Linked DNA regions of Homo sapiens: regions 1, 2 and 3 are each linked to region 4. The links are contacts of gene promoters, found by promoter capture Hi-C in blood cells and fetal thymus (Javierre and others, 2016). All regions are on one chromosome and are shown on one strand. The core of a region is centred on a gene start or on the middle of the fragment in contact, and the rest is flanking DNA. Distances in the headings are between cores, read along the strand shown. Region 1 overlaps SUFU (SUFU negative regulator of hedgehog signaling). Region 2 has its middle 34 kb from the start of NOLC1. Region 3 has its middle 24 kb from the start of ELOVL3. Region 4 holds the start of NFKB2 (nuclear factor kappa B subunit 2).

Region 1 (6,586 bases), core at 4,087-6,586, 200 kb before region 4:
ACTCCTTTTAGCCACAATCCCAGTCCTGTGAGTCATGACGTCTGCAGTGGACACACGACTTGGGGCCTTCTCCTTGGGGATGCCCAGGAACAGGAACCAGGGCATCAAGCTTGGCAACTATTCACAAGTGAAGTGGATTTGGCCTGCTGAGCCCAGCCCAACCTCTGGCTTCTGCCCCTTGCCTGGGAGATTCTTCCTTTTGCTTTCTGATTGCTGACGAAAGCTCTGAACTTTCCAGAGAAAGAACCACCTGCAGGTCTCCCTTTAAGGCAGAACTGGAAAAGGGTGTGGCTGTGGGATCGAGGGAGAGGGGACCAGCTCACCTCTGAAGTTCTTATTAAGCACAAGGCTGTATAACCTGGTTATTCTGACAAATTTTCTTATAAGGACAATATAGGAGTAAAAGGCCACAAAAGGTGAATAGTAAACACCAATAACCAAATGACAAAATGCAGTATTTTCTTTTTTTGCTTTGAGACAGGGTCTCAGGCTGGAGTGCAGTGGTGTGATCACGGTTCACTGCAGCCTCAACCTCCCAGGCCCAGGCAATCCTCCCACCTCAGCCTCCTGAGTAGCTGGGACTACAGGCATGTGCCACCACACCTGGCTAATGTTTTGTAGAGATGGGGTTTTGCCATGTTGCCCAGGCTGGTCTCGAACTCCTGGACTCAAGAGCTCTTTCTGCCTCAGCCTCCCAGAGTGCTGGGATTACAGGTATGAGCCACCACACCCAGTTTAAAAATGCAATATTTGGCAGGGCACAGTGGCTCATGCCTGTAATCCCAGCACTTTGGGAGGCTGAGGCGGGCAGATCATAAGGTCAGGAGTTCGAGACCAGCCTGACCAACATGGTGAAAACCCATCTGTACTAAAAATACAAAAATTAGCTGGACGTGGTGGTGTGTGCTTATAATCCCAGCTACTCAGGAGAATCGCTTGAACACAGGAGGCAGGGGTTGCAGTAAGCCGAGATTGTGCCACTGCACTCCAGTCTAGGTGACAGAGTGAGACTTCACCTCGTGTTAAAAAAAAAAAAAAAAAAAAAAAAGGCAATATTTTCATCGGGAATATCCCAAAGGTAAAATGTGATCATGAAATCATGAAATGGTGGGACAGAGTATGGCTAAAGAAGTCAGGGTGAGTAAAATCTGCATCAAGGTTAGGGGATTTCCTAGTCAACTATTAACTCCTCTGGGCACCAGGGGCCGCCATCCCCAGCCCTACCCTCTGACTTGGGTGGGAGATTAGGACCCCTACTCTCCTGAATGAGCTTACTCTAGCCAGAACCCCAGCTTTCCTTTTTCTGAGACACTGAGTCATTTCCTTTCTCTAGCTCTTACCTTTGAGCCTTCCTTTTCCCTTCCCTGGAGAAGTGACTCACTGCTGAAGTGTTGGGTGACACCGAGGATCAAGGATGGGCGATAAAAATACCCCTGATTGTGCAACTCGAGGGAGGGGGATGCAGCGTTTGGACTGAGAATTCAAGCACCAGCAAGGAATTCTGAAGTTGAGGTGTTAACAATGGCCGTGACTTCATCTCTTTGGGGAAGCGGAGCAAAGAACGGAGTTAAAACAGAAATTTACCCATGCCAGACTTGCTGTGGAGCCCCTTGCTCTGCCCTTTCAAATATGTATTTCTGAGAAAGGCCTGTAAAGGCACTTGGCATGACAACATGGATCACAGTGAGGGAGGCAAAAAGGAGCCTGCTGTCCAGGACGCAGGGAGCAGAGAGGCCTGGGCTGTTCCTCTCATCAGCCCTGCAGAGTCTGGCTGGGGCCCTAAGAGAAGGGCTGTTTCTTTCTGGGCTTTCTTTCCAGTGCAAGCAACTGTACTTCCCCAGCGTGGGAGTGTGAGGGAAGCCAACGTGACAGAGAGGGCTCCAGGCTGGCCACTGCGCTGACAGGAGAGACCCCTTGAAGCAGGGTTACCCAACACTGCCCTTCGTGCGAGCGGCACCAGCCACAGCCCAGCTGTTTCCCCAGATGGAAACTCACCTTCCTTCACCCCAATTCACTGGTAAGTTGGATGCAAACAAGATATTTTCTTCCTCTAATTAATCTTCATGGACCTCACAAGCTGAGCAAAACAAAACACAATTTTCTCTAAAGGATGACTCCCTGGCCAGGTTACAAGGTATTCAAGATGGGAATTAGAGGGAGCAAAGTCACCCCAATCAAAGGCCAAACAGACAAGTGCAGAGACACTCCTAAGAGTAGAGAGAAATCTATGTATATGTGTGTGTGTGTATGTTGGGGAGGTGTTGCAAATGTGAATGTTACAGCAGAGGAATTCATGGTACAGAATCTTAATTCTCCATGAAATTAAGGCAAAAAAAATTTTTTAAAGGTCTTAAAAGCTGCTGGTGTGATTCTAGAAGACTGAGAAACTCAGCAGTGATGGTGAGTTCGCTTTTTAGAGGTGCCTCAACTACAAAGTGCTTCTCCCATAGTCAGGAACTTTTCCCCTCTAACATAAGTGTGCACACCTGCATGTGCCCTGTCCCTCTCTGGGAGGGCACACAACTCAGAGAGCTTCCTAAGAGTTCCCAGCCTCAGGTGGTAAGTCACTGGCTGAGGGAGGAGGTGGCCCTAGAATACTGGTGCAGGTTCCCAGCATCTGAGCAACAGTTTAGAGAAATACAGGCCAGGTGTGGTGGCTCATGCCTGTAGTCCCAGCATTTTGGGAGGCCAAGGTAGGAGGATCACTTGAGGCCAGGAGCTCGAGGCTGCAGTGAGCTATGATCTTGCCACCACATTCCAGCCTGGGTGACAGAAGGAGACCCTGTGTCTAAAAAAAAGAAATAAATAAAAGAAAACCTCTACACACAATTCACCTGACCACACGTATCTTCTGTGCACTGTAGAGAGACCAGACTCCGTAGACCATGTCTGACCAGGTGACCTCAGACAGAGAGGATGCCCAGGAACTTTTCCCTCCTCAAATCTCTACAGATATTGGCAGGCACAGTCTTTAAGCCAGGCTGTCCTCATGTGGCACAAAGGAACTGCTTCCCATCCTTCCCAAACTCACCCGAGCAGGCAGTGGGAAGGGAGGCGCCAGCAAGCTGAAGGAGGCTTTTCTCAACTGATCATCTTGGGAAAAGCCAGATACAGATTTCATGGCTGGAATGCAAGGGTTGTGAAATGCTGAAGAAGCCCCAAAGAGGGCCAAGGACTCTCCTTCCGGGAAGGCAGTGGGAGGAGGGCTGGCAATGAAGAGTAGGAGAGGAGCGGGTTACCCAGGGGGCCTGCCTTTCTGGAAAGGAAGAAATAGACCCTCAAAATGGAAAGAAATCCCCTAGCCCTGAGGTGGTAGAGGGACCAGAGAGAGGGTTGTTTTAGTTTCTGCACATGAAGAAAGTAAGGCCTTGTGTCACAAAATAATTTTGGTATAAATGAGCCAATTATGACATAGCTTGTTATTTCTGGGATTTGGAATCATCAAGGCTCATGGCATCTCATAGGAGTTATTTAACTCCCCTAGAGTTTAGTTAAATAAGCCCAATAAGCTTCTAATATGAGGCTTTGGCCTTGTCCTTGGTGCCATGTGAGAGGTCCTGATTCATGCTGCAACTAGTTAGATGAATTCTACCAGTAAAGGTCATTATTTTCTCAGAGACACAGTCTGATGTGTCCCCCATGGGGTCCCTGAGAATGGGGTAAGGAAGATTACATCCATTTTAATGGCTGATAGATGGCTGTAACTAAGCTCTACCCCTTTCCAACCTTGGAAAAGATACTTATTAGCCTCTCTGTACCTCATCCATTAAAGGGGAATATGTAAGATTATCGACCACAGGATGGCTATGAGGATAAGATAAATGAATGGCAGCACATAGTAGCTGGCACATTACCTAGCACAGAATGAGCACTAATAAGGTTTTAGCTGCTGCTGAAGTGTGAAAAGAGCAAGTGCTTGACACCCCCAAGTAGGCCGGCACCCGGCTGCTATTGCCCAGGCTTGATCAGCTGCTCTGAGCCTCTGATTTAGCTCTGTATCTTCCTTAGACCACAGACAAACCCGCGAAGACCCATGCATAAGAGCTCCCTGGCCCAGAAGTCCTGACTAAGGGGAAATCAGACCCGCAGACAAAATATGGCCCACGCTGGCTGCCCCCCAACAGGGAGAGGAGCAAACACTGGTGCCAGCACATTTTGGGTCAGCTTTCTCAGTTGCAATCCATGTGGTGTATGTGAAATGGGGTCAGGTCCCAGAGTGGGCAGCACAGATATTACCGTCACGCTCACTGATCTGAACTGAGTCCATCATCATCGATCCTGAGATAACAGGAAACTTGAGTCTGACAGGCTTGAGGGGTGTGTTGGAGAATGTTCTTGGCAAAGGAGGAGGAGAAACCATTTCTCAACCAATTGCTAACAAATTGGTAACCAATACTGACAGCCTCAGAGGAAACATTCTATTCCCCTCAGACTACAGGTCCTGGTGCTTTAGAGACCTTACTGGGCACTAAACCTTCAGGAAGGGGAGACAACCCCGGCACCTCGAATCTATTCTCACCCATCTCTCTGTATCTCAGCCAACTCAAGCCAAAGGGTAGAAGCTGCAGCCTCTCTGCCTTATGTTTACAGAGAACCCTTGGGCCAGAACCAATACCCGACTGCCCAGTTAGGGTGTAGGCTGAGAGTCTCGGCTTATGTGTATATCTAGGAGCACAGAGCCTTGTGCCCCATTGCAATGTCCAGGGGTGCAGTAGCTGGAAGTGCCCCCAAGCCAGGGAGTGAGATCTCAGGCCTGTTCCAGATACACAAGCGGGGCAAGAAGGTTGTATCTCTGCAGGAGCTTGTGCCCTTCTGCCTAGAAACCCCAGGCTTCCAGAGGCAGAGAGCCATCTGGACTGAGACTGTGTCCATGTTATAGGCCTTCCAGTACCTCTGGCCTGCCAACAGTGCCAAGGAGGCCCAAAGCGAGAAGCCAAGCTCAGGGAATGGGAAGGAGTGTAGACCCGGGACAGGGTCCAGACTCACAGGTAGAGAGCTTCCATATGTCGTATGACCTGGTGTGGCCATCTGCTGCTGCCAGGGGATGATCAGGATGCCTCCAGCCAGCTACTTCAGGGCAGCTGGCTGGAGAAACCTACAGGCCGGAGTTAAAAGCTGCTCTGAGGTGGCGGTGGAGGCTTCTCCAGGCTTTTGCCAAAGAGCTCAACTCTCAGTACAGCCCTGTTCCCAGAGTAACTCTAGTTCCAGTCAGGTCCCAGCAGGCAGCCTCAACTTTAACCAGCCAGGCCTCCCCTGTGCTATCCTCTTGAGTTCCTTCCCCTGCTTATTAAAATTCTAAGGTGCCCTCAAGGTCGATGCTATGTTCTTCCTCCTCCAAGATGCCCTCCCTAACTACCCCAGATCCTGTGGACCTGTCTTTTCTGTAGTGCACTGAAGCATTACTACTTCTGGGAAACACGATCAGCAACTAGAGCTAGAATCCAGAGAAGCAGCCATTTCCAACAAATCACATCGACAGCCAGATGCACACCATTAAAAGGTAACTGTTTCACTCATGTTCTCCCAAAGGAAGAGCCTGTGCACCCCAGATGGCCCCCTAGGTCCGAGCTTGTCAGACAGCAAATGTGTAATAAAGACTTCATAGAAGAAGGCTAGATCACCCTGGTCTTGCAGGATGATCAACCTCCCTTTCAGCCCAAGGCACAGCAATTTCCTCCCTGGCAGGCAAGGTTCCTGCTTTGGGCTGCCAGCCCCCAGGTATCTCCTGCCAGCAGCTATTCCCTAGAGCTGCCCTGGGACTAAGGGCAGAGGGGGGTGCCCAGCTTCAGCCCTGCCTATCACTCATCCCCTCTATCAGAGGAAGAGAGGTTGGCAGGAAGCGGATCTGACCTCTAGGGTGGCCACAGTCTCTCCGGAGGGCTACAGGGGCCCCTGGACAGGCAGCAGAGGCCTGCAAAAGACTTCCTTTCCCTTCCCTGGGCCCCAGGGAAGAGAGGCAGGAAGAAGGGCCTCAGCCACAGGCATCCAGTATGGGGCTGGCCAGAGAGGGAGGCCCCCAGGGTTGCAGCTATCAGCCGGAGACCAGGCTCCAGGAAGGAAGGAAGGGCAACTCTGGCCAAGACTGAGATAAGGAGGGAACCGTGCTCAGCACAATGGGCTCCCACAAGGCTGGGAGGCCCCAAGTCAGATTTCTCCCCAACCTGGCCTCCTGTCTGTTCACACGGCTCATGTAAATATTTACTGATGTTAATATTCACGGTCTGCTGGGTCCCCTCTGAGGCCCTCTCCTATGACCCACAGATAGATCTGTGTGCCCCAGACCATGCCTGCCCTTAAGCCTAGAGATCCTGGGCCCATCCAGCAAGGGCTATGTGCATTGTTCTCTCTCATGCAATCCACAGGGACAGGCCCTTCAGAAAAAAGTCGTCCTCTTGTTCCAGCCCAGGGACACTGGGGAACTTACGGGGCCCGGTCGTGGGCGAGGCCATTCTGCCGCTGAGGGTTGATTGGTGGAAGGACAGGTTTGCTGTTGATCTCGAGTCCTCTCCTCAGGGTCTCCCGGATCTGCTCTGTGTCTGCAACGACACCACTAAGTTGCCCAGTGGCCCAGTGGGCTCCCAGCAAT
Region 2 (7,282 bases), core at 2,042-4,541, 210 kb after region 4:
ACTCCGTCTCAAACAAACAAACAAACAAAAGAATCAGCAATATTTCAAACAAAAAGCCATAAAAACTATTTCAGTTTCAGTTTCAATTCATGCAATCAACTCTTGCTCTGTTTCATATTGAGTTAGCAATCTTTATGAACACACCAGCTTTTCAATTACAGTCCTGGAAGTTTTCTCTCTAATTCAGTGGCACAAACCCCAAAGTTATCAGAAACCTGCAAATCAAAAGTCCTTTTAATGAACTCCTCCAAAGAAGCAAGCCCTGGACTGTAGCTGATTGTAAGTCACTTTTTGAGAAGAATCAAAGCAAAACATCGATTGTGGTTGACAAAAGTCTTTTTTTTTTTTTTGAGACAGAGTCTTGCTTTGTTCCCTGGCCTAGAGCACAGTAACACAATCTCAGCTCACTGCAATCTCTGCCTCCTAGGTTCAAGCAATTCTCCTGCCTCAGTCTCCTGAGTACCTGGGACTACAGGTGTTCGCTGCAGATCTGAGCCTCCCTGTGCTCTTGTTGGGGCCAGGAGCAGGCAGGATCCATCCCTTCCTGGGTGCAGCTGCAGCAACTTGGTCCACAGCTCCAGATACAGGCCTCCAGTTCCACAGAGCAGGCAGGAACCCCACCCCGCTGTGGGGTGCTGCAGCCGCCCAAATTGGGGCTGCAGACCCAGGCATCCCTGCACTCTTGGGGGGCCTGAAAAGGCCCCCTCCTTGCCCTTGTAGGCTCAGAGTTGCCTGCTCCTGCTGCTTGGCCTCTCCCTGCTCTTGCTGCTTGGCCTTTCCCTGCTCCCGGTGCCCACTCTGATCTTGGACCAGGCTTGGGGCCAAGTCCAGGGGCTGTCACAGTGCTGCCAGGTGTGTGCAAGCTCAGGGCAGTGCTGACACGCCAGTCCCCTGCTGCCCTGCCCCCCTCTGGACTTTGGGCACTGAGGAGTGCAGGAAGGGAAGTTGAGAGGGGCTGAGAGTGACTGGTGCTGGCCTGCAGGTGCCCCTTGGTGCCAGCAGCCTGGGCACTATGGATGGCTGTGGAAGGCAGACAGGCTCCTGGGTGGAAGGGGGCAAGTCCCCAGTGAAGCCCCACCTTCATGCCAGGACAGGCCTGAAGTGTGGGGGCCAGGCTGCCATTCCTGCTGATTGGAGGAGGAACTCATGGTGCTTTTTCCTGTGGACCAGTCAGCACACACTCCCTTCCCCGAGCCACATAAAAGCCCTGGGCTCAGCCACAGCAGGGCAGAGGTTGGGGAGACAACAAGAGGACCAAATGCAGAGAGGAGCTATTCCCCCTGCTGATAGCTAGAGACAATGGGATGGCCAGCTGGCAGAAAGGAGCTACCCTCTCTGCTAAGAGCTTCAGAGACCAGAAGAGACATTGCGTGGACCAGCTTCAGAGAGGAGCCATCCTCTCCAGGGCCTCCTCTCTGCTGAGGGCAGCATACGTCAAGATGACCAGTAGCAGACAGGAGCTGTCCTCTCCAGGGCCTCCTCTCTGCTGAGAGCAGCAGACGTTGGGACAACGAGTAACAGAAAGGAGCTACCCACTGTGCGTCTCCCCTGAGCTGCTCTAATACTAAATAAAGCTCCTCTTTGTCTGGTTCACTTGCCTGAGTACCTCATTCTTCCTGAACGCAGGACAAGAACTCAGGCAAAGCACCACTGGCCACAGAGGTTTCTGGCCAGAAAAATTGACATCCAGTGATCCCGTAATACTACTTTTCAAAAAATTTTCATGAAGATCATTTGTTTTGGCTGGGTTTATAATTTTATAACCTTCTATGCCAAACCCTGAAACCTCAAAATATCTACCAGAGACAAATATAAAATCCAGACAAAAATGTATGCTCACAATTTTGAAGACATTTTTATTTTCATTTTACCAATAATTTTACAGCCAGCTGGTTTCGAAAAAATTTACTTAACTCACACGAACTTGAAAATTGCTTTGACTTATTTAATTTATGAGTGCTGTTTTACTTATAAGCCAATTTGGTAGACACAACATATACCAATAAGGGTACATACAAATAAACACATCTAAACATGAATATACACACATAAACAAAGATCCAATAGCTTTTACCTTGGAACTATAGCTATGAGATAGCAATACAAGCTTACTGGTTTTACATGGTTACACTTTGTCCCAGTAGGTAATTCAGTGAAGGCTGTGAATCAAAATTTTGGGTATAGTAGTTTCCATGGCAGTTTGATTTTTAAAGGCCAAACCTCCTCAGACTCCAAAGAACATTGGGGTCAAACAGCAACAAAGGAGAACATCACATACCTGCCAGGCCCAACCTTGCTTAGAACAGCAGCACAAAAGCCTGGATACACACAACTCCATCCCACTTTCCCATTCAGCAGCAAACTCCAGATTCCAAACAGCAAACGCCAGATTCCAAACAACACTGGGGCCAACAGTATTGCAAATGAATATCAGTTTACCGAATTCTAACTTCTCATGACTATATAAAACACACACAAATGATCACCAAAACACAATCCAACTGCTGCAGCAAAAAACAAGCCCCAAGAGTGTCCAAACTCAAACAGTCAGGGTGCTTCCTCTCTTCATTGGTTGGGCTTGATCAAATGCAAACAAAAATTCCTTAGGAAATTTCCCAAATTGAGAGGAACTGATCCCGCTGTCTGGTACACACACGAGGCACTCACTTGCCCAGACACAACATACAATTATAAACTAGCCCCCAAGAGTGTCCACATAAAAACAGTCAGGGTGTTTCCCTCCCTCAGTCAGTTGGGCTTGTTCAACCTGCAAATGAAAATTCTTTTAAAAATTTCCCAAATTGAGAGGAGCAAATCCTGCTGTCTGGGCCCACAAAGGATACTCACCTATCTGGATGCAGATGTCCAATTTCGAAGGCTATTCTTCCAAGGCAATCAGGAGGATGGTTGGGGCTGACCATGGTGGGGCCAGAGAGAAACTGAAACTCACTTCCAGCTGATATTGGTCAATAGATGGGCATGGTGCATGCCTGTAGTCCAGCTACTGGGGAGGCTGAGGCAGGAGAATAACTTGAACCTGGTGAAGTGGCTACATTGTCTGGGGTATATGCCCTCAGGTATATATTTATCATTGTCACAGGCCAGGAAAATTTAGGACACAGACACACACAAGGGGTTTAGGAGCAGAGGTTTAATAGGTAGAAGAGAAAAGAGAAATAGCTTCCTCTATAGAAGAAGAGGTCTCCGAATGGAAAGGACTGGCTGGTAGTGAAGACACCAGTTTGAGGAGGCAGTGTCTGATTTAGTGTGGACTGTTTTAATGTGTCTTGATTTACATAGGGCTCACAGATTGGTTTGATCAGCTATGACGTTTACATAGTGCTCAGGAAAGGCTGGTTGCCCCACCCTAATCTTGTTACGCAAATGGCCTTTCCAGTTGATCGACACCATCTGTTTTTTTTTTCTTTTTCTTTTTTTTTTTTTTTTTTTTTGAGACAGAGTTTTGCTCTCGTTATCCAGGCTGGAGTGCAATGGTGCGATCTCAGCTCGCTGCAACTTCTGACTCCCCGGTTCAAGCAATTCTCCTGCCTCAGCCGCCTGAGCAGCTGGGACTATAGGCGCCCACCACCACGCCCAGCTAATTTTTATATTTTTAGTAGAGGCGAGGTGATCGACACCATCTGGTCTGCTCCTTACAGTACACATGACTGGCAGAGAAGGGAAGATGAAGTCGCTATCTTGAACATGTCTACTCCTTAGTTCCTGCTGGCATTCACCCTTGCAAACTCCCAGGTTTCAGGCTGCTCTTTGTTAGAAAATGATTTGGGGCAGCTTTTCATTAAAAAAGAAAAAGAAAAGCCTTACTGAGGATTCCCGTACCCTGGCTATCTGCCCAAGTGATTTCTTCTGACTCCTATAGCACTGGGAGGCAGAGGTTGCAGTGAGCCAAGATTGTGCCACTGCACTACAGCCTGGGTGACACTGTGAGACTCCATCTCAAAGGAAATAAAATAAAATAATAAAATAAAATAAAATTTGTCAGGCAGCTGCATAAGAGGGCTTCTGAGACTCCACCCATGGCAGCTGAGCCACAAGCAACATGTTCCCAGTCAGGGAACCAAAATATGTTATTGAAACATCAGGGGTTCAGTCTAGGTCCTACAGCTCGCTGCACAGAAAGCCAATGACTGAGATGACAAGTATTGCCAAGGAAGAAGGCTTTAATCGGGTGCTGCAGCTGAGAAGATGGGAGCTCAAAACCTCAAATCCATCTCCCTGATCAACTAAAACAAGGGTTTTATACAGAGGGGAAGAAATGTAATGTGTAAGAAAACAGGAAGTAGGGAGGGCCAAGGAAGTAATCATGATGAATGAGGGGTCCAAAGTCTCATTGTCTGGATGTAGTGATCTGGTGAGTTTCAGTTCATTGATACTTTTTTTTTGCGGGGGAGAAGCCTGAAGGTCATTTACTAATGAAGGAACTCAAATAAAGCAAATATAAGTTTCAAGCTTTAAGACCAGAAAGATAAATTTTTATGTTTATCCAAAACAATAGTCTCTGGAACTATTGGGTTGATTTCATTTGTTTGTTTTTTACCTTTTAAGTTCAGGGGTACATGTGCAGGTTTGTTATATAAGCAAATTTGTACTTGTCACAGCGGTTTGTTGTACAGATTATTTCTTCACCCAAGTATAAAGTCTAGTATTAGTTATTTTTTCTGATCCTCTCTCTCCTCCCATCTTCCACCCTCCAGTAGGCTCCAGTGTCTGTTGTTCCCCTCTTTGTGCCAATGTGTTCTCATCATTTACCTCCCACTTATAAGTGAGAACATGCAGTGATATGTTTGGCTCTGTGTCCCCACCCAGATCTCATCTTGTAGCTCCAATAAGATGTGGGAGGGACCCAGTGGGAGATGACTGAATCATGGGGGTGGGTCTTTCCTGTGCTGTTCTGGTGATAGTGAATGGGTCTCAAAAGATCTGATGGTTTTAAAAATGGGAGTTTCTCAGCACAAGTTCTCTTTTTGCCTACTGCCATCCACGTAAGTTGTAACTTGCTCCTCCTTGTCTTTCTACTGTGATTGTGCGGCCTCCCAGCCATGTGGAACTGTAAGCCCATTAAACTTCTTTCTTTTGTAAATTGCCCAGCTTCAGGTATGTCTTTATCAGCAGCATGAAAATGGACTAATACAGTAAATTAGTACCAGGAGTGGAGTGTTGCTGAAAAGATACCTGAAAATGTGGAAGCAACTTCAGAACTGGGTAACAGGGAGAGGCTGAAACTATTTAGAGGGCTCAGAAGAAGAGAGAAAAATGTGGAAAAGATTGGAACTTCCTAGAGACTTGTTGAGTGGCTTTGACAAAAATGCTGATAATGGGTCAGGCATGGTGGCTCACACCTGTAATCCCAACACTTTGGGGGGCCGAGGCGGGCAGATGACCTGACATCGGGAGTTCAAGACCAGCCTGACCAACATGGAGAAACCCCTTCTCTACTAAAAATACAAAATTAGCCAGGCGTGGTGGTGCATGCCTGTAATCTCAGCTACCCGGGAGGCTGAGGCAGAAGAATCACTTACCTAGGAGGTGGAGGTTGTGGTGAGCCAAGATCACACCATTGCATTCCAGCATGGGCAACAAGAGCGAAACTCCGTCTCAAAAAAAAAAAAATGTTGATAGTGATATGAACAATAAGGTCCAGACTGAGGTGGTCTCAGATGGAGATGAGGAACTTGTTGGGAACTGGAGCAAAGGTGACTCTTGTTATGTTTTAGCAAAGAGACTGGCAGCATTTTGCCCCTGCCCTAGAGATTTATGGAACTTTGAACTTGAGAGAGATGATTTAGGGTATCCGGTGGAAAAAAGTTTCTAAGTAGCAAAGCATTCAAGAGGTGACTTGGGTGCTGTTAAAGGCATTCAGTTTTGGTTTTGTTTTTTTTTTTCAGACGGAGTCTTGCTCTGTTGCCCAGGCTGGAGTGCAGTAGCACAATCTCGGCTCACTGCAAGCTCCACCTCCCAGGTTCACACATTCTCCTGCCTCAGCCTCCCGAGTAGCTGGGACTACAGGCGCCCACCACCACGCCCGGCTAATTTTTTGTATTTTTTAGTAGAGACAGGGTTTCACCGTGTTAGCCAGGATGGTCTCGATCTCCTGACCTCGTGATCTGCCCACCTCAGCCTCCCAAAGTGCTGGTATTACAGGCGTGAGCCACCGCGCCCAGCCGGCATTCAGTTTTAAAAGGGAAACAGGGCATAAAAGCTTGGAAAATGTGCAGCCTGACAATGCGATAGAAAAAAAAATCCCATTTTCTGAGGAGAAATTCAAGCTGGCTGCAGAAATTTGCATGAGTAATGAGGACCCGAATGTTAATCCCCAAGACAATGGGGAAAATGTCTCCAGTGCATGTCAGAAGTCTTCACAGCATCCCTTCCCATCACAGGCCAAGAGGCCTAGGAGGAAAAATTAGTTTTGTGGGCTGGGCCAAGGGTTCCTGTGCTGTGTGCAGCATAGGGACTTAGTGCCTGTAATCCCAGCTACTTGGGAGGCTGAGGCAGGAGAATCACTTGAACCCAGGAAGCAAAGGTTGCAGTGACCCGAGATCTCACCACTTCAGCCTGGGCTGTGTCTCAATTTAAAAAAATAAAAATAAAAAATAAACAAGGCCAGAAGCAATGGCTCACGCCTGTAATCCCAGCACTTTGGGAGGCCAAGGCAGGTGGATCGCGAGGTCAGGAGATCGAGACCATCCTGGCTAACATGGTGAGACCCCGTCTTTACTAAAAATACAAAAATCAGCCAGGCGTGGTGGTGGTGCCTGTAGTCCCGGCTACTCAGGAGGCTGAGGAAGGAGAATGGCATGAACCTGGGAGGCGGAGCTTGCAGTGAGCCGAGATAGTGCCACTGCACTCCAGCCTGGGTGACAGAGCAAGACCCTGTCTCAAAATAAATAAAATAAAAATGCCAAGGCCAGGCGTGGTAGCTCATGCCTGTAATCCCAGCACTTTGGGAGGCCGAGGCAGGCAGATCACGAGGTCAGGAGTTCAAGACCAGCCTGGCCAAGATGGTGAAACCCCGTCTCTACTAAAAATACAAAAATTAGCTGGGTGTGGTGGCAGCGCCTGTAATCCCAGCTACTCGGGAGGCTGAGGCAGAGAATTGCTTGAACCAAGGAAGCGGATGTTGCAGTGAGCCAAGATCGCGCCACTGCACTCCAGCCTCGGCAACACAGCAAGACTCCATCTCAATAAATAAACAAACAAACAAACAAACAAATCTTTCATTCTGTAGCATTTCAAATTAAGGGGAGAAAAAAATAAATTG
Region 3 (6,886 bases), core at 2,066-4,565, 190 kb after region 4:
CTCCTGACCTCAGGTGATCCACCCGGCTTGGCCTCCCAAAGTGCTGGGATTACAGGCATGAGCCACCACGCCTGGCCTTTTTTTCTTTTTTTTTTTTGAGACAAGGTCTCACTCTTGTCACCCTGGCTGTAGTGCAGTGGCACACCTCACTGCAGCCTCAACCAGCCAGGCTCAAGCGATCCTCCCACCTCAGCCTCTTGAGTATCTGGGATTACAGGTGTGGACCACCACTAATTTTATTTTATTTTTATTTTTATTTTTTTAGATAGAGTTTCACTCTTGTTGCCCAGGGTGGAGTCAACGGCACGATCTTAGCTCACTGTAACCTCCACCTCCTGGGTTCAAGTGATTCTCCTGCCTCAGCCTCCTGAGTAGCTGAGATTACAGGCATGCACCACCATGCCCAGCTAATTTTTATATTTTTAGTAGAGACAGGGTTTCACCATGTTGATCAGGCTGTTATCAAACTCCTGAGTTCAGGTGATCTGCCTGCCTTGGCCTCCCAAAGTGCTGGGATTACAGATGTAAGCCACTGCATCTGGCCTAAGGTTTGTTAATTTTGTTGAACATTTTTTTTTTTTTTTGAGACAGAGTCCCTCTCTGTCGCCAGGCTGGAGTGCAGTGGCACTATCTTGGCTCACTGCAACCTCCACCTCCCGGGTTCAAGTGATTCTCCTGCCTCACCCTCCCAAGTAGCTGGGACTACAGGCACACACCACCATGCCCAGCTAATTTTTGTATTTTTAGTGGAGATGGGGTTTCACCATATTGGCTAGGATGGTCTCAATCTCTTGACCTCGTGATCCGCCCACCTCAGCCTCCCAAAGTGCTGGGATTACAGGCGTGAGCCATCGAGCCCAGCCTTTTGTTGATCTTTTCAAACAAACAACTTTTGGTTTTTATTGATTCTCTCTATTGTTTTCTCTATTTCTTATTTCATTTATCTCTGCTCTAGTCTTCATTTCTTTCTTTCTGCTACCATTTGTTTTTCTTTTTCTACTTCCTTAGATTGTAAAGTGTGGTTGTAGATTCAACATCTTTCTCCCTTTTTCTTTTTTTTTAAATTTTTTATTGATATATAATATTTGTACATTTTTATGGGGTGCATGTGGTATTTTGTTATATGCATAGCATATGTAATGATCAAGTCAGGGCATTTAGGGTATATGCCATTGTGAAAAAACATTTAAATGGTTCATTTTCAGGGCATGATAAATCTATGTACTAGCAGCCACCCTGCAGATGTGACAAACTGAATGGCTCATGCACCTAGAAAATCATCATAAGAGAACAAGATGTAGAAGAAGGGTCAGCCCATAAAAGGTGAGAAAGTTTCATTATTGGGAAGTTGAAACATAGGCAGGGAAGGGGACCAGAGTATAACCTTATAAGGGGATAATGAAACTTAGGTGACGTCTGGGAAGATTGTAACCCTGTAGTACTCAACCAGTAAGGAACTGGGGGAAAGACTTGCATGCTAGGAGATAAATTACCTGCTGTAACTGCCCCAGGTGTGCCTGCCTACCAGACATCTGATCTTGCAAGATTGCCATTAAAAGTCTTGCTTCTGCTGCACTTCCTGTCTCTGAGTCCATTATTTGATTTTGGACAGGTGAGCGTTTCTCACAAACTTGGGGGCTCATCCAGGATCTCTGTGCCTGCATGGAATGGGACTCCAGCCAAGAGGGGAGACACATCTCACCCAATTTTAGGTGGCCCGCTCTGTGCAGGTGTCCCAGCTCCCCACATAGGCCATAGACAAACCTGAGATTGTTATTCAGCAGGCAGCAGAGGTGACATAGGGAGAAAAGCAGACACTATGGCAACCAGGCAACCTTGTGCATGAGCCAAGGTAGGAAAACCAGACTGTAAGTACCACCTTGGTGGTTGGGCATTTTTGGAGGTTGAGTGTGTGTGACTGAGACATACCCTAGATACGAAGCAAGCACGGAGTCCCAATCCACAGTTCCGTTCTCCTGCGAGGGAATCGGCAGGAAACAGATGAAGCGATTCTCAGGGTGTGCAAGAAACCTCCAGTAGGAGGGTTGAGTACATAGGGAAAGGCCCAGACACAGAGACTGGCCAAAAATGGGAAACAGAAATTCTAGGCCTAGGGACAAAGGAAAGAGGGAGCCAAAGAGACTCCCTCTGACATTCCCCCAGATAGTCCTTTGGGGTGAATGAATGTTGCAGGTTTGGAGGGACAACCCTGCAGCCAGGGACAAGGAAAAGCAAAAGTTGATAAAGTATTGCTGTTTTACCTGACCCAAAGACCCCATTCATAAGCCTTCAGTCTTTTGGCCTAAGGTTGGCTCAGATGAGGATTGGGTGTGCCAAGCTTTAATTCTCTATGTGAATGATAAAACCCCATCTGCACAGGAGAAGATAGGTTATGCTGTCTGTGGGATCAAGGAATTAGCCCCCATGTTCCCCCCTCAAAGAAGAAGAAAAAGAGCCTAGTAAAAAGCCCTTGCCCAGTGAAAAGCCCTGGGACCCCCTATCATGGGAGCCCCCTCCATATGTCTCACAAAATAGGGGACAGGGAGATCAAGGGGCAGCAGGAGAGTTAGAGAAAGAAAGACCTGGAGACCATGGGGGAGCTGAACCAACTGCTCCTTTAGACCCTTATCCAAATTTAAGAAAAGAATTAGAATAATGTAAAAGAGATATTGAGAACTTCCCTATCCCCTCCAAACAGCAAACATCTAGCATGTTCCCTCTTAGGGAAGTTCCCACAGGACAGAAAGAGATTGGCTTTGTAAACGCTCCTCTTACAAGTACTGAAGTTAGGAATTTCAAGAAGGTAATGAAACCACTCCTAGAGGATCCCCTTCATTTAGCAGACAAGTTGTACCAATTCCTAGGACCAGCTTTTATACCTGGACTGAAATAATGCCTATCATGAATATCTTATTCACAGGAGAAGAAAGAGGAATGATTAGGAGGGTGGCAATGACCATCTGGAAGAGGCAACATCCTCCGAGGAAAGGAGTCTTGCCAGCCAAACAAAAAATTTCCAAATGTCAATCCCGAATGGGATAATAATGATCCCAGGGACCAGGCCCAAATGCAGGACCTCAGGGAACTAATAATTAAAGGGATCAAATAATTGACTTCTAGGACACAAAATGTCTCAAATGTCTCAAAGATTCAACAAGAAAAAGAGGAAACTCCCTCTGCATTCCTGCAGAGGCTCAGAGATCAGATGAGAAAATACTCTGGATTAGATCTGGAGGCCCCAGTAGGGCAAGGCCTTTTGAATGTTAACTTTGTAACTAAGAGCTAGCCTGACATTACAAAAAAATTACAGAAGATTGATGGTTGGAATGAAAAATCAATTGAGGAATTACTGAGGGAAGCTCAAAAAGATCTTTGTGAGAAGAGAAGAGGAGAAACAGAAACAAAAAGCGAAAATAATGGTTTCCACTGCAGAGGAGGTAGTCAGGAAGAAGTTAGATCAAGACCCCTCTCAGAGGAGACAAGAAAATACTAGGTTTCAGCAAAAAGACAGAAGAGAAATACAAGGAAAAACTCCTAAGACTGTAAGTGGATGTTACAAGTGTGGAAAACCAGGACATTTTAAAAGAGAATGTCCAGAATGGAAAAAGGAAGAGAAGTAATCCACTGTATGACTTTTGATGAAGATTAGGGAGTCAGGGGTTCCTTGTAAGTAGGTCCCACCAGGAACTCTTGATAAATTTGAGGGTGGGACCCGATGGGGAAGAAGTAACATTTTTGCTTGATACTGGGCTGTCTCTCTCCTTCCTAATTAATCAACCAAGGGGTACAGGACTCGAAGGAAAAATTGACAGTATCAGGGGTAAAAGGGGAGGGATTTCAGGTTCTGATATTCAAGAAAATGGTAATTAGATTAGGACCAGAACAAATAGAGGGGTCACTCTTATATGTTCCTGAAGCAGGCAACTAACCTCCTGAGTTGAGACCTGATTGTGAGATTGGGTTTAGGATTAGGAATAGAGGAAGGACAAATAAAAGTAATGATGGGCCTCCTAACAGAGGAGCAGGAAAGAAAAGATGTCCCCTAGACTTTAGGAGTAGGGATCTCTTTGCCTTTGAATGGGAAAATCCCATAACTGGCAGAAAACAACAGTACTGCTGGACTGTGCTGCCACAAGGCTTCACAGATGCCTCAAACTTATTTGGTCAAATCTTAGAAAAAGTCCTGAAGGAATTCCAACCTTCCAGGGGAAACCAGTTATTACAATATGTAGATGATCTTTTAATTTCTAGGGAGAGGAAGACCAAAGTATCAGAAACCACCATAAGCTTGCTTAATTCCCTAGGAGAAAGGGGGTTGCAAATCTCTAAGAACAAATTGCAGTTTGTAGAAAAATAAGTTAAATATTTAGGATACCTGATTAATGAAGGGAGGTGGAGAATAAACCCAGAAAGAATACCAGGAATAGTGGGCTTCTGCCTAAGACAAAGAAAGAACTCTGAAAATTTTTAGGTTTAACTGGCTACTGGAGGTTATGGATTGACTCATGTGCTCAAAAGACAAAGATCCTGTATCTCAAGTCACAAGAAGAGGAACCTGATCCTTTGCAGTAGTCCCCAGAGGAAATTCAGGCAGTGAAAGTGAGAGGTGACAGCGTGCTGGCAGCCCTCGCAGCCCTCGCTGGCTCTCAGCACCTCCTCGGCCTCACTGGCCGTGCTTGAGGAGCCCTTCAGCCTGCAGCTGCACTATGGGAGCCCCTCTCTGGGCTGGCCGAGGCCGAAGCCAGCTCCCTCTGCTTGCAGGGAGGTGTGGAGGGAGAGGCATGGGCGGGAACCGGGGCTGCATGTGGCACTCACGGGCCAGGGCGAGTTCCAGGTGGGCACAGGCTTGGCAGGCCCCGCACTCCGAGCGGCCGGCCAGCGCCGCCGGCCCCAGGCAGTGAGGGGCTTAGCACCTGGGCCAGCAGCTGCAGAGGGGGCGCCGGGTCCCCCAGCACTGCTAGCCCGCCTGTGCCATGCTCAAATTCTCTCTGGGCCTCAGCCGCCTCCCCGCAAGGCAGGGCTCAGGAATGGCAGCCCGTCATGCCCGAGCCCCCACCCTGCAGTAGTCTCCCGCATGGCCTGAGCCTCCCCGACAGGTGCCACCCCCTGCTCCACAGTGCCTGGTCCCATCGACCGCCCAAGGGCTGAGGAATGCAGGCGTACACCCGCTGCCCCGGCGAGGGATCCACTAGGCAAAGCCAGCTGGGCTCCTGAGTCGGGTGGGGACTTGGAGAACTTTTATGTCTAGCAGGAGGATTGTATATGCACCAATCAGCACTCTGTGTCTGGCTCAGAGTTCGTGGATGCACCAATTAGCACTCTGTATCTAGCTAATCTGGTGGGGACTTGGAGAACTTTTACATCTAGCTAAAGGATTGTAAACGCACGAATCAGCACTCTGTGTCTAGCTAAAGGTTTGTAAATGCACCAATCAGTGCTCTGTACCTACCTAATCTGGTGGGGACTTGGAGAACTTTTATGTCTAGCTAGAGGATTGTAAATGCGCCAATCAGTACCCTGTGTCTAGCTAATCTGGTGGGGACTTGGAGAATCTTTATGTCTAGCTAAGGGATTGTAAATACACCAATCAGGACTCTGTGCCTAGCTCAAGGTTTGTAAACACACCAATCAGCACCCTGTGTCTAGCTAATCTGGTGGGGACTTGGAGAATCTTTATGTCTAGCTAAGGGATTGTAAATACACCAATAGCACTCTGTGTCTAGCTCAAGGTTTGTAAACACACCAGTCAGCACCCTGTGTCTAGCTCAAGGTTTGTAAATGCACCAACCAGTGCTCTGTGGGGACTTGGAGAACTTTTGTGTCTAGCTCAGGGATTGTAAACACACCAATCAGCACCCTGTCAAAATGCACCAATCAGCAGGATGTAGGTGGGGCCAGATAAGGAAATAAAAGCAGGCTGCCCCAGCCAGCAGTGGCAACCTGCTCGGGTCTCCTTTCACACTGTGGAGGCTTTGTTCTTTTGCTCTTTGCAATAAATCTTGCTGCTGCTCACTCTTTGGGTCCGCACTGCCTTTGTGAACTGTAACACTCACTGTGAAGGTCTGCAGCTTCACTCCTGAGCCAGCGAGACCACGAACCCACCAGAAGGAAGAAACTCCAAACACATCCAAACATCAGAATGAACAAACTCCAGACACTCTGGCTTTAAGAACTATAACACTCACCGCAAGGGTCTGCGGCTTCATTCTTGAAGTCAGTGAAATCAAGAACCCACCAATTCCAGACACAAAAGAGCTAAAGCAGGCCCTCCTTACAGCCCCGGTCCTGGCCCTCCCATCTTTAGAGAAACCATTCCATCTATTTGTAACAGTAGACCAGGGTGTGGCTCTTGGGGTGCTCACTCAAACCTGGGGAGGGAAGAGGCAACCTGTTGCTTTTGTCTCCAAGCTTCTCAATCCTGTCTCTTGAGGATAGCCCAAATGTGTGCAAGTAGTAGCTGCCACAGCCCTGCTGGCAGATGAGAGTCAAAAGTTAACCTTTGCTGGGGCCTAACAGTGAGCACCCCACATCGGGTCAGGAATATATTAAATCAAAAAGCCAAGAGATGGTTAATGGATTCTTGGATTCTAAAATATGAAGCCATGTTACTAGAAAAAGATGATTTGGTCATAACAACAGATACTTGCCTGAATCCAGCCAGTTTCTTATGGAAAGGAGAGAAGAACAAAGAGGCATCAGTCCATAACTGCCTTAGATATCATAGAATACCAAATCAAAGTTAGCCCAGACCTTAGAGAAGCTCCCCTACATGGTAGGATAAGCCTGTTTGTGGATGTGTCATCCAGAGTGATAGATGCCAAGAAACATAACAGTCATGCTGTCATTAATAAAAATAAACACTCCTTATGTGAGGAAGGTAGATTAC
Region 4 (5,420 bases), core at 2,885-5,384:
TGTGAACACCGAGGCCGGACTTGAAGCCTGGCGTGTCCGAAAACTGCAGAGCCCGCCTCCGTGCCGGTCCCTTTCCTGCCCCCACCCCGCGCCTCGTCCGCCAGGCCCTCTGTTGCCTACGTGTCTCCGTTCTCGTCCTGCGCCGTCAGCAGGTGGCGCTGTCCCGCCAGCAGCGCGCGCGCGTCCGCGGTGACGCCGTAGTCGAGTAGGGCTCGGGCGCTGCGCTGCGCCAGGCCGAACAGGCGCGCGTTGTACTCTCGAGCTACGGGCCACAGAGGGCGTGGGTCAGGGCTAGGTCCTCAGCCCCGGCGCCCCGACCGCCCGTGCCCCGGAGTCCATACCTCGCTGCAGCATCTCCGGGGCCTGCGGCTCGCACTGGGGGGTCCTGGAGGGGGCGCTTGGCTCCGCGGCTTCCTCCCCGGAGTCCCTGCTGGGCACCGTGGCGGCCATCTGCGCCCCGCCCCCGCCTCCCGGGTAGCAGCCCATGGGGCCCGCGCCGGACTGGTAGGGGCTGTAGGCCAGGGAGGAGGGGAAGAAACCGAGGCTGCCACCTGTGGATACAGGCAGGGCTGTGGGAAGCGGGCACCAGCCATGACTCTCCCAGATTTTTTTTTTTTTTTTTTGAGACGGAGTTTCGCTCTTATTGCCCAGCCTGGAGTGCAGTGGTGTGATCTCAGCTTACTGCAACCTCTTGTCTCCCAGGGTTCAAGCGATTCTCCTGCCTCAGCCTCCCGAGTAGCTGGGATTACAGGCGCCTGCCACCATGCCCAGCTAATGTTTGTATTTTTAGTAGAGACGAGGTTTCACGCTGTTGGCCAAGCTGGTCTTGAACTCCTGATCTCAGGTAATCTGCCTGCCTTGGCCTCCCAAAGGGCTGGATTACAGGCGTGAGCCACCACGCCCGGCCTCCCCCAGATTTTTTTCCTCCACAGCTTCTCTTACCTTTACCCCTCCCTCCATCAGTACCCCCTCACCTCCTCCAGCTCCTCCGTAGCCCCCGGCTGCACCCCCAGAGCCTCCACCCATGTGGGAGCCACCCCCGAAGGGCTGGGAGAAGGTGGGCAAGGCCTTCCTCCGCTTCCGCTGCACCTCTTCCTTGTCTGGGGGCAGAGGAAAATGAGATTGAGCCCAGTTATTGTGTCATGCCTCAGGGGCCCTTCCCAGAAGAGCCCTCAGGGCCGGCTCCTAGGAAGCACCTCCTGGGACCCTCGCACTTCTGACTTGGCTCATGCATCCCCACATCTAGCTCTTGGGACCTTCTTCTAGCCCAGCCTGGCCCCCCGCCAGCACCCTGAGGTCCTCAGCCCAGCTCCACCTTCCACCAGAGGGTAATAGGTGAACTGTTTGGAATCAGACACGTCCCCTCCTCGCTTGCGTTTCAGTTGCAGAAACACTGTTACAGGCCGCTCAATCTTCATCTTGTGATAGGGGGGTGTCCGGAACACAATGGCATACTGGGGGGTGCAGGGAGACACAGGGTGTCAGTGAGTCCTTAGCCTAATTTAGCCCCCAGCCCGGGCCCGGGCCCTAGCCCTGGGTACCTGTTTATGCACATCTGTGGGAGAGAAGTCCCCAAAGGCCTGCCATCCATTCTCATCATCCTCATAGAACCGAACCTCAATGTCATCTACAAGGAAAACGGAAGCTTGGCCACAGCTCCCGGTGGAATCTCTGGGGCCATTTACCCTAGAGCTTCCCTGGCCCCAGTCTTATACTCGATGTCCTTGGTGCCCAAAGTGGGCTCCAGTCTCACCTTTCTGCACCTTGTCACAAAGCAGATAAACTTCATCTCCACCCCGCACAGAGCCTGCTGTCTTGTCCATTCGAGAAATCTTCAGGTTTGATGCCCCCGGAGATTCTATGGAGTGGGATATGGATTAGTTGAGATGATGCAATAGCCAAGGCCACATTTAAGAAGCTGGGGGCTTTGTATTCCTTATCTCAGCAACCCCTGGAGCTGCAGGAAACACCCAATATACACATTTACTAAAGACAGAAGCTTCGGGGGGGAAATGACTTGCTCAGGATCACTCAGCTCATATGTGGCAGGGCCAGGTTCTGAAACCTGGGTCTGTTTGACTGCACAGCTTGAGGTCACCCCTCATGCCACCTCTGCCACCAGGCCTGGCACCCCAGGCAATCAGGATACTCACTGCTGTCATGGATGGGCTGGGAGATGACTGGCTTCAGGGGCAGGGAGAAGGAGCCATCACTGGCTCTAAGGAAGGCAGAGAAGCGCAGCCGCACTATACTCAGATCCATCACCTTCTTCAGTTCTTTGGCCTCTTGCTCCAGCTCCCGCTGCTCGGCCTCTGGGCAGTAGGTACATGTGTGACCCCTGGGCTTCTCCCTCCCTGCTCCTTCCATGAGCACCTCCCATGACCCACCCACCCCCTGCACCCATACCCGACCCACCCCCTGCACCCATACCCGTAAGGCCCTGGGGCCTAGAGCGGAGCCGCTGCCTCTGAAGTTTTTGTATCATAGTCCCCATCATGTTCTTCTTAGTCACATGCAGGACACCCAGGTTGTTAAATCTGAGAAGAGAGAATCGGAGGCCTTTGGCCATGCAGTTCTTTCTTCCTGAGGCACCTTTCCCATTGCCAGGGCTCAGCTCAGCCTTACTTCCTCAAGGAAGCCATTGGAGTTTCTACTTAGGCCCTTGGGTTTGGGGCCAACCTACATCTTTCCCCTTGGTCAGATGCTAAGCTCATGGAGGTGGGCTGGGGCCTGGGACTGGCAGACGGGCATACCAGTGGGGGCCAGGCGTAGAGGGCACCTACTGGGCAGTCATGTCCTTGGGCCCCACAGAAACGGCGCAGATCCCCAGCTCCGAGCATTGCTTGCCCACCAGACTGTGGGCATGAGCACGAGGTGGGTCACTGTGTGTTACCAGGTCCACCTCGATCTTGGCTGGTCCCTCGTAGTTACAGATCTAGGAGAGGCAGGGACTGTCAGTCAGGGCCTTGGGCATGCTGTCCACTTAGCCCACCCTCCAGCACCATCCTGGCTCACCTTGACAGTGGGATAGGTCTTTCGGCCCTTCTCACTGGAGGCACCGGGCAGTCCTCCATGGGAGGGGCCTTCACAGCCATATCGAAATCGGAAGCCTCTCTGAAGGTCCAAGGGCATAGTAGCATTGTGATCAGGGAAGACCACCCAGGCCAGCAGTGACCGCAGTGCCTGGTAGTAGCCCTGAACCAAACTACAGCACTCTGATCAGCAGCAGTGACCATCCAATCCCCTGTGGCCTCCTTCGGCAATGGCTCCTCCATGGCCAGCCAGCTACCACTACCCCATTTGTCCCCAAAGCTGAAGCCATTCCACACCCTCCCTTTTGCTCACTCACCTGCTTAGGCTGTTCCACGATCACCAGGTAGGGGCCATCAGCTGGGGACAGAGAGACCTTGCTGAGCCACGATCTCCCAGCCCCTCCCCCAGAGAGAGGGCACATGCTCTCCCTCCCCCGCTTTAGGACTAGGGGAGGTTAGTGAACTTGCTGACCTGTTTCTGGGGCTGGCTCCTTGGGTTCCACAATGGAGGAGTTCAATTTGAAATCATCATATTCAATAATACCATCCAGACCCTGGTTTGGAGACAGACTGGGGGTGGCATCCGACTCTCAGCACCCCCCACAGCCCCACCTCCCATCTCCAAGTCTTCAGTGGTCACTCCCCCCTCCTCCTCAGACCCAAGAGAAAGCTCCTTTTGGAGGCAGAGTTGCAGACAGATGGACAGACTGGCAGGCTGAGAGCATCTGCGAGCATACAGGTGTAAGGCAGCAGAGGGGGCTCGGGCAGACAGGTGGACAGACACGAGGGGCAGCCGGCCGGGTCAGGGGCAGGCGGCATGACTCACTGGGTTGTAGCAACTCTCCATGTCTCTGGGCTAGGCCCGGCTCTGTCTAGTGGCTCCGGCCAGGTTCTGCTTCCCAGAATTTTAGACGCCCGCCTAAAGTTGGGAGGAGTGGCGTGGGGGAGGGGGTCAGATCTAAATGGGGGTGGGCGGGAGATGGGGGCCCAGATTTGGGGGAGGGTCCGACCTCCTCCAGCCGCCTGTCCGGGTGTGGCGGGTGAGATCCGGTGGAGAGCGAGATCCGGAGTTGGGCTTGGCCGGGGAAGGGGCAGGAAAGTTAGAGCAGCTTAGGAAAGTCCCGAAAATACCAAGGGGAGGCGGGGCCGGAGGGGGCGGGCCTGGAAATGACGCCACTGGCCCCGCCCTCGCGACGGGAGGGGCGGGAGGCCCTCGACAGTCTACGGGCTCCCGCTGCTTTTCAGCGGGCAGAGGTCTAGGAGAATCCGGGAAGCCCCGGTGGGGGTTAAGCCCCCTCCTCCCTCCAGGGCAGGGAACAGGAGGGTCTTTCACGGCCGGGAGGAGGCTGGCAGTCTGGGGCCAAGTCCGCCTCCCGCTCCCCTCCCCCGGTCTGGAGCAACCTTGGGATTTTCTGCCAGGAGGGAGGCCACGGCTGATAAACCCCGGGGGCTTTTGGGGGGACATTCCTGCTGTCGGACGGCCTCCCCTTCGAACAGCCTGTAGGCGGGGGCTCTTTCCTGTGGGAGGCCCCGGGGTTCTGCCCCGAGAACGCGATTCTGGGGCTGCGGGAAAAGTGTCTCCTCCTCGGAGTGGGCTCTTTTCTCTCTCTCCCAAACCTCACAACAGCAGCTGGTCCCACACCGCACCGGTTCTGGGCGCGCAGGCGACAGGGAGATCTCTGCACGCTCCCCCCCCCCCCCCCCCACCTAATACAAGAGTGTGTCTCCATCACAGCTCCACAAGTGTGTTTCGGCTGTAGTGCTTGGTTGCATGTTGTGTGTCCATGGCGTCAACATGAGTGTGCAAGCGAGCATGTGTGTAGATAGGTGAATCCCGAGCTTCTCAGTGTGGGTGTGTGTCAGCGCCTGTCTTGATGTACGGACACGGGTGAGCGTATCTTGAGTTTGTGCGTGAAGGGTGTGGGTGCAGGCACCAGTGCACCGGTGGGCACGTCTCCGTGTGCATGTGTGTGCGAGTGCGACTGCACGGACGCTGCCGTGTGTGCGCCAGCACAGGTACAGGTGTACGTACGGGTCCGCGTATCTTTGTACAACGGTGTCGACGTGGATCCGAGTGTCGTCGCCTGCGCGCCCTTTCCGGCTGTGTGCAGCTGCTGCTCTCCAGCCCCAGGCGCTGTCCGCTAAAGGCCCTCCTCCCTCTTTTCTCTTGTCCCGGCCACCCAGGGGTCTGAATCCAGCCACTCACCGTGGCGGCGGCTCTGGTTGCGGCTTCTCTCCGCGCCCGACCCACCTGGGACCGGTCGCGACACCTCGCCTGCCAGCAGGGCTCAGGGCCGGGAAAGCCCCTTCTCGGCCCCCCGGAGGGGGGAATTCCCATGACGTTTCCGTGCGTCACGCCTCGCGCCCTTTTTCATTGGCTGAAAGTTT

The links. Contacts are between HindIII fragments. The CHiCAGO score rates a contact against its expected background, and 5 or more counts as called.
Region 1: a fragment that was not itself captured here is called in contact with the fragment with the promoter of NFKB2 in region 4 in 5 of 17 cell types (erythroblasts, M1 macrophages, M0 macrophages and 2 more); the score reaches 7.7 in erythroblasts.
Region 2: a fragment that was not itself captured here is called in contact with the fragment with the promoter of NFKB2 in region 4 in 2 of 17 cell types (endothelial precursors and M0 macrophages); the score reaches 7.5 in endothelial precursors.
Region 3: a fragment that was not itself captured here is called in contact with the fragment with the promoter of NFKB2 in region 4 in 1 of 17 cell types (endothelial precursors); the score reaches 5.2 in endothelial precursors.

Annotation. Positions count from the first base shown.
Region 1 is chr10:102,599,383-102,605,968 of GRCh38, reverse strand. It overlaps SUFU (SUFU negative regulator of hedgehog signaling), which reads right to left. Exons shown (of 12, transcript NM_016169.4): 8 at 6,425-6,536. Among named protein-coding and RNA genes, the nearest start is that of TRIM8-DT, 41 kb to the left of the region's middle. RefSeq lists enhancers at 1,050-2,249, 5,467-6,217. The HindIII fragment of the contact is 3,650 bases long and covers 3,512-6,586 here.
Region 2 is chr10:102,182,377-102,189,658 of GRCh38, reverse strand. No RefSeq gene overlaps it. Among named protein-coding and RNA genes, the nearest start is that of NOLC1, 34 kb to the right of the region's middle. The HindIII fragment of the contact is 2,363 bases long and covers 2,110-4,472 here.
Region 3 is chr10:102,199,139-102,206,024 of GRCh38, reverse strand. No RefSeq gene overlaps it. Among named protein-coding and RNA genes, the nearest start is that of ELOVL3, 24 kb to the left of the region's middle. The HindIII fragment of the contact is 1,949 bases long and covers 2,341-4,289 here.
Region 4 is chr10:102,394,419-102,399,838 of GRCh38, reverse strand. NFKB2 (nuclear factor kappa B subunit 2) reads right to left here and starts at 4,134. Exons shown (of 23, transcript NM_001322934.2): 1 at 4,043-4,134; 2 at 3,859-3,951; 3 at 3,505-3,586; 4 at 3,350-3,390; 5 at 3,016-3,114; 6 at 2,784-2,935; 7 at 2,431-2,537; 8 at 2,154-2,312; 9 at 1,754-1,858; 10 at 1,542-1,627; 11 at 1,316-1,454; 12 at 975-1,100; 13 at 342-551; 14 at 121-262. The coding sequence starts at 3,879. RefSeq lists a silencer at 239-558 and enhancers at 1,773-2,067, 3,539-3,658, 4,069-4,118, 5,169-5,420. The HindIII fragment of the contact is 5,152 bases long and covers 2,002-5,420 here.